Linked DNA regions of Homo sapiens: region 1 is linked to region 2. The links are contacts of gene promoters, found by promoter capture Hi-C in human tissues and cell types (Jung and others, 2019). All regions are on one chromosome and are shown on one strand. The core of a region is centred on a gene start or on the middle of the fragment in contact, and the rest is flanking DNA. Distances in the headings are between cores, read along the strand shown. Region 1 overlaps LOC105372995 (a long non-coding RNA gene). Region 2 holds the start of DRG1 (developmentally regulated GTP binding protein 1).

The links. Contacts are between HindIII fragments. The study calls those that stand out against the background at their distance.
Region 1: a contact is called between a fragment that was not itself captured here and the fragment with the promoter of DRG1 in region 2, in 1 of the 25 tissues and cell types used here (dorsolateral prefrontal cortex).

Annotation. Positions count from the first base shown.
Region 1 is chr22:31,115,180-31,118,911 of GRCh38, reverse strand. All of the region lies in intron 1 of LOC105372995 (a long non-coding RNA gene), which reads left to right. Among named protein-coding and RNA genes, the nearest start is that of INPP5J, 5.9 kb to the left of the region's middle. The HindIII fragment of the contact is 5,360 bases long and covers 1-3,732 here.
Region 2 is chr22:31,397,753-31,401,418 of GRCh38, reverse strand. DRG1 (developmentally regulated GTP binding protein 1) reads right to left here and starts at 1,815. Exons shown (of 9, transcript NM_004147.4): 1 at 1,694-1,815; 2 at 676-799. The coding sequence starts at 1,735. RefSeq lists enhancers at 1,706-1,755, 883-1,788 and a silencer at 1,876-2,155. The HindIII fragment of the contact is 5,082 bases long and covers 1-3,666 here.

The sequences.
Region 1 (3,732 bases), core at 1,045-3,544, 280 kb after region 2:
AGTCACATACTGATCTAAGCCTGAATTAGGCTGATCCCAACTTGAGACCTTAGTTCTGGGCCCAGATCAAGCCCTTATCCTTCTCTAAGACTGAGCCTTAGTCACAGACTGAATTCTAGCCCCAGCCCAGACTAACCTTTTAGACTGACTCTGGCAGAAGAGTCAGACTAACCTTTTAACCCTGACTCTGGCAGAAGACTGAGCCCTAATCTTGGTCAAAGACTGAGTCCTGAGCCTAATCATTGACTGAACTCTGACCACAGACTGAATTCTGACCCTGGATCATGCAATTCTGGTCACACACTGAGCCCTAAACGGAAGACTGTGCCCTGAATCTGGTCACAGACTGAGCCCTGAACTTAGTCATTGACAGAGACATGACCCTGGTCACAGACTGAGCCTGGCTCCTGGTCACAGACTAAAGACTAAGCCCAATCATGGACTGAGCCCTGTATCTAGCCCTAGGCTACAGACTACTCAACTAAGGGCTGACCTAGACCCTGTCTGAGCCTGACCCCATCACAGACTAATCCCCAACCTTGGCCCCACTTGAGGAAGACTGCTGGCCTAAATTACATGCTGCCACATAAGAGGCATGGATTATGGGCAGAGATCTGTCTTGGGAGATCTTGGGCTTCTCATGCTGCTGATGCCACAGTGTTCCTTCCTGGTACTGTTATGGTCACAGTCTCCACCACTGGTTCCACTGGCTGGTTGGTCAACCCTCAGCAGCCCAAGCTGTGGCCTTTAGGGGCCACAGCATCCAGGCTAATGCAATGAGAGTGGTTTGGTGGCATCTGTCCAGCAAACAACCAGGGCCCATGGGGTACTGGGGTTTGGCTCTGTCAGCAGCAAGAACGACTCCGTGGGGCCTCTGGCTTCAGTTACTCTGAGGCCCTTGCTGGGGTAGGGGTTGGAGTAGAAGGAAATAGTGGGGTATGTCCCATTATTTTCGTAAATAAAGTTTACTGTTTGTGTTTAGGTAATCCATGCCCATTACACAAAACACAGAAGGAAAACATTTACCTATAATTTCATCCACCAAGAAATAATCGTTCTGACTTATTGGTTTGTTTCCTTATAGATATTTTTTGGTGGGGGCGGGGGTCTAGGCATATATATTTATATATACATGTTGTATATAATATGCATATATATTTATATACATGTTGTATATAATATGCATATATATTTATATACATGTATATTTACATATACGTGTTATATATTTTATATAGCTATATCTATTTTTTGAGATGGAGTCTCACTCTGTCGTCCAGGCTGGAGTGCAGTGGCATGATCTCAGCTCACTGAAACCTCCACCTCTGGTCCAAGCAATTCTCCTGCCTCAGCCTCCCGAGTAGCTGGGATTACAGACATGCACCACCATGCCCAGCTAATTTTGTATTTTTAGTAGAGACAGGGTTTTGCCTTGTTGACCAGGCTGGTCTTGAACTCCTGGACTCAAGTGATCCACATGCCTTGGCCTCCCAAGTGCTGGGATTACAGGCGTGAGCCACCAAGACTGGGCCTATACATGTTTTATAGAATTGGTTGGTTACTGTGTTGCTGCCACAATGTCCAGCAACACAGTAGGGTTAGGGTTAGGGTTAGGATCCTGTTAAGGTTGCAGCCCATCTCCTTCTTAACAGGAACTGGAATATGGTGGACCCCACCCTCAGCTTCAGGAATGGGTCCCAGTTGGTTAAGCCAGTAAGCAATTCCCATTTCCCCAGGCACATGATTAGATCACGAATGAACTAGCAAGATACAAGGAAATTTTTGCTCAGGGCTTTTGGGAAAGGAAGCTTATTTTCTCTCCTGAGGAGGCTGCCAAAAAAGATGATCTTCCTTCCATTAGATGTAAATGAAGAGGCCAATGGCTCTAGTTACTGCTGGCAGCCATCTTTACACCATGTAGAAAATTGGCCTACTGATAAACTGACATTATGGAAAGCAGAATGGAGAGACACCAGGCTTTGGTGACTTCATTAACTGGATCAAACTTCACCTGAAGCCCCACCTGCCATTGGACTTTTTTTTTCTTCTTTTTGAAATGGAGTCTCAATCTGTCGCCCAGGCTGGAGTACAGTGGCACGATCTTGGCTCACTGCAACCTCCGCCACCCAGGTTCAAGCGATTCTCCTGCCTCAGCCTCCCGAGTAGCTGGAGTTACAGGTGCCCACCGCTGCGTTTGGCTAATTTTTGTATTTTTAGTAGAGACGGGGTTTCGCCATGTTGGCCAGGCTGGTTTCAAACTCCTGACCTTAGGTGATCTGCCCGCCTCAGCCTCCCAAATTGCTGGGATTACAGGCGTCAGCCACTGTGCCTGTCCTGGACTTTTAAAATTATTTGAGCCAACAGAGTCCCTTTATTTATTTATTTATTTAGAGACTGAGTGTCGCTCTGGCACCCAGGCTGGAGTGCAGTGGCGCAATCTTGGCTCACTGAAACTTCCACCTCCCGGGCTCAAGCAATTCTCTTCCTCAGCCTCCTAAGTAGTTGGGATTACAGGTGTGCACCATCATGCCCAGCTAGTTTTTGTGTTTTTAGTAGAGAGGGGGTTTCACCATGATGGCCAGGCTGGTCTCCATCTCCTGACCTCAAGTGATCTGCCTATCTCGGCCTCCCAAAGTGCTGGGATTACAGGCATGAGCCACTGGGCCCAGCCCCTTTATTTTTATTATTTTTTGACACAGGGTCTTACTCACATTGCCCAGGCTAGAGTGCAGTGGTACGATCTTGGCTCACTGTATTATTTTTTATTTTTTATAGGAGATGGGGTCTCACTCTGTCTCCCAGGTTAGAGTGCAGTGGCATGATCATAGCTCACTGTAGTCTTGAACTCCTGGGCTCAAGCAGTCCTCCCACCTCAGCCTCTGGGGTAGCTGGGACTACAGGCACTGCCATGCCTGGCTAGATTTTAAATATCTTTTTTTAGAGATGGGTTCTCACTATGTTGTCCAGGATAGTTTGGAACTCTTGGCCTCAAGTTATCCTCCTGCCTCAGCCTCCTGAGTAGCTGGGTTTATAGACACAAGCCACCACAACCAGCTCCCTTTATTGTTTAAGCCAGTTTAAATTGGGGTTTCTATGACTTGCAGCCCACAGCATCACAACTCCCAATTGATATTACCAGATTACTGTTTTTGTTGCTTTTTTCTTGCTATTTAATACCATAACCACGAACATTCTCCATGTCATTCCATCTATGCTGCATCTTTTTTTTTTTTTTTGAGATAGAGTCTCACTCGCCCAGGCTGGAGTGCAGTGGTGCGATCTCAGCTCACTGCAACCTCTGCCTCCTGGGTTCAGGCAATTCTCTTGCCTTAGCCTCCCAAGTAGCTGAGATTACAGGCAGCCATCACCATGCCCAGCTAATTTTTATATTTTTAGTAGAGATGGGGCTTCACCATATTGGCCAGGCTGCTCTCAAACTCCTGACCTCAGGTGATCCGCCCACCTCGGCCTCCCAAAGTGCCGGGATTACAGGCGTGAGCCACCCACGCCCAGCCTGCTGCATCATTTTTAACAATTGCATGGTTTTCCATCCTATGGAGGTACACTCATTAATTTAACTCATCCCCTGCTGTGACATGCTTAGGTTATATCCCCAGTTCTTCACCACGATAAATGGTATTCTAATAAACAAGCTTGACCTAACAATCCTCTCTCTGATGATTACTTTGGGGCTAATTCTGAAAAATGGAATTACTGGGTCAAAAAAAGTTT
Region 2 (3,666 bases), core at 566-3,065:
TTAGTAGAGATGGGGTTTCACCATGCTGGCCAAGCTGGTCTTGAACTCCTGATCTCGTGATCCACGCCTTGGCCTCCCAAAGTGCTAGGATTACAGGCGTGAGCCACCGCACCCAGCCTTTTTTTTTTTTTGGTACATCTTCTTTCATACCTATGGGGACCCCTCATTTCTAAGCCCATAGAGACAGGGCTTTGCTGGTTCCGAACTCCTGGCCTCAAGCAATCCTCCCGCCTCAGCCTCCCAAAGTGCTGGAATTACAAGGGTGAGCCACTGCACCCAGCGCATGTAAATCTATTTTGTATCAGTGCAGGATATAAATAAAACTACAGTACACTTAGACAATATTCATTTGCCTCTGAAACCGGCAGAATAAAAATAAACACAGTTCAAGAATTCATGCTTAGAAAATATAAATCTACTTTAGTAGAACATCTTTAGTTATTTTTCTGTTTTTAAAAAACTTTTTTTTTTTTTTGAGATGGGGGTCTATGTTGATCAGGCTGGTCTTGAACTCCTGGCCTCAAGTGATCCTCCTATCTCAGCCTCCCAGCATGCTAGGATTGCAGGCGTTGAGCCACTGCACTGGGCCATCTTTAGTTATTTTTAAACCACATGTATGTACTATTTTGACAAAAATTATACCTAAAAATATATATATTGAAGAAGAACACAAACCTTCTCCTGGACCTCCACCACCACCACCCTTTGGAGTAATGAGTTCTCGACGAAGCTTAGCAAGACGAGCCTTAAGCAGCCCTAAGTGGTGTGCTGTGGCCTTGTTCTTTTGAGTCCGAGCCATCTAAAAGGGAGGAATCACAGCCATAAATTAGAAGCAGTGAACGCTTCCCCCAGCTTTGAGAGGATAATTTTTTTCCCCAAGTCCTACTAATGTTAGCACACCCAGTTTACAGGCTTTAAAAGAGTAAAAGTCCATTATCTCCTCCATCCAGCTCATTTCCCTCACTACAAAGCAAAGCAAAGCCCAAAGAGGAAAGACGATTAAGGTCATTCCAATTAGTGCCCCCAGACTAGACTGAAACCCGTCTGCGGGTTCCTTTTCTACTATTTGCAGCTGTTTGGATCCATCTAACACTGGGACACCACTTTCCTAATTGTAAAGCGCTCTCAGGGCCGCACGCAATGGAATCACACACTATCCAGGCGGAATAAACTGCTCCCACACAGATGTCATTTTACTTCCAGATCCGATTACCGGGAGCAAATACTCTGAATCAGGGGGTCATTAGGGTAGACACTGGGAAAAGGGGGAATAAGGGGGACGCAGCGAAGGATGATGAGGAAAGATCCTGAACTATCTGACCAAGTCAGAGATGGAATAAGGGACAGGATTCAGTGTTTCTCAGAGCAAAACGGAAAGAAACAACATCAGAACAGGAGCCAAACACTGGGAGGGGGAACGGACTAAGGGCCTAAGGTGCAGGGGTGCGGAACGCGGGCCCGGGCAAAGGGGAGTCCGAGAGCGTAGACGCGGGACGAGGGGAAAGGGGGCCCTGACTGAGGAGAGTCGGGGACTCCTAATCGTGGCAGAGGGCAGTCGGAACACGGGCCTCGCTGAGAGAAGTCGCGGAATCTAGGCCCGGTCCTGACGCGGCTCAAAGGAGAACAGGAAGGAGCGACGCCACCAAAGAAGGAATGCTCAGACTAAGAGTGAACCGCCAGCTGCGTCCATTACCTCTGCTTCTATCTCCGCGATCTTAGCTAAGGTGCTGCTCATCGTGGCGAGTACCCTGTGGCCTCCACACTGTCTCCCTTCACACACCCGCGGGCAAACTGCCACCGCCACCAGGCGCTACTGCAGCACGCAGGCGCGGTACTTCGAATTACCGCGAGAGAGTTCCGCGTAGGGGTCACCGCGAGTCGCAAAGCGTGGGGCTGTCTCCTCCCCCTCACCCGACCCCGCCCCGTCCCGCGAGCCAGTGCGGTGTCATAGAGCCCGCGGGAGCGGAGGCCAGAGAGGCCACCCCTGTCTGGGCCTCCCCGAGCGCGCCGAGGGTCGCGCGCAGCTCGGCCCCGCCCAGCGGGACCCGCTCCCAGCTGCTCTGCATGGTACTGAACGCTTCAGTGCTGGAGACCCCAGGGCGTGGTGCAAAGCCGACTCATGCTCCGCACCCCTGTTCCTCGCCAGCATCTGCGGGTCCTGGGTCCCTTTTTCACAGCTGGGGTGACACCCCGACGCCCTCCATGGTCTTGGAGGGAGTAGAGACCCATCTTCAGCCTGCCTCACCCCCTTGGATAAAGAAAATGCCCCCTTTCTATCATTCAAAATTATTTTTAGGTCGGTTTTGTTTACTCCGAACCCCGAGTAGAGCACATGGGGAGCCCAAAATAAGTGCATACTTGAATGGATAATTCCCAGAGAACTGCTGCTTGCAACATAGTTTGTAATACCAAAAAATTGAAATCTATATTAACACCCATCAGTAGGAAAATGGATAAATGAATAATGCCTCTATCCTGTTTTTGAAATATGATTACAGCCGTTAAAACGTAGATCTGTGGTCTGACTGGCTACCCAGGACATGTTAAATGGGAAAACAACTAGCAGAAGGGCACCTACGTAGTGATACCATTTATGTTATTTTTAAAATTAAATGTACATTTATATAGGTGTACGTGTATGAACGTGCAGTTTAAAGGCCTAAACAGAAAAATACATCAGAAGCTCTTAACTGTGGGATGGGATGCAAAGAAAAGGCCTTTCACATTTTATTCCACAGAATTTTGAAGTTAAATTTTTACAAGACGAATGTATCCATGTATTACTTGTGTAATAATAAAATTTAAAATTTCAAAAGACTCCTCTTCCCCAAGTGTCATGAGGAAGCCAGGACGTCCAGGAACTATGTGGTGGTTTTGAAAGCGGTTTGCCTCAGGATCAATGGGTTGTTTTGATAGATTGATTATTCCAGCGGGAGTCGACAGGCCAGGCTTAACCCACAGTCGACAGGCCAGGCTTAACCCACAGGGCTGGCCTCCACCCAGCCCTGGGAGGGAAGTTTAATTTAGTTAAATTTGTAAACAAGAACTATTCTAACTTCCCAGAGACAAAAAAGGGAGGTTTTCTTGTGCATAAAGAGGGAGAAACAGAAGGGAAAGCTTTTACAGAAGGTCCCCAAAGGGCCAAAGAGAGTTTCTTCTTTCTTTTCTTTAACCTCAGCCTTTTTCATAAATAAATTAAGGGATGATGAGGTAATTAGATCCCACACTATTAGCAATGGAGGAGGGAAGATGAGGAGGTCCAGCTGGAATGGGACATGATCAAAGATCAATCTTAAAAGACAGATAAAATCAAATCAGCAGGCCTATCCTAACTTGAAGTACTTAAGGAATTAATTGGCTGACAATATCAAGGGCATCACTGCTCTGTGAGTAGGTGCTCCTTAGCAAATCTATTATATGAGGCCTGCAGATAAGTTAACACTTACTGCTCAAAGACACCCTGGGACCCACCTTGGGGCCCTGAACTGTCAATAGGCACCAAAGAGTAATACTCATTTTCCCGAGTCCTGGGTGGCCATCCTGTTCATGCAATCGTTATTTACAGAGCTCCAACTGCTGCCTGGCACTGTGACAACACTGGGGACAGAGTAGAGAGTGAATCAGATATGTTCCTGCACATAACAAGTATTTAGGCCGGGCGCGGTG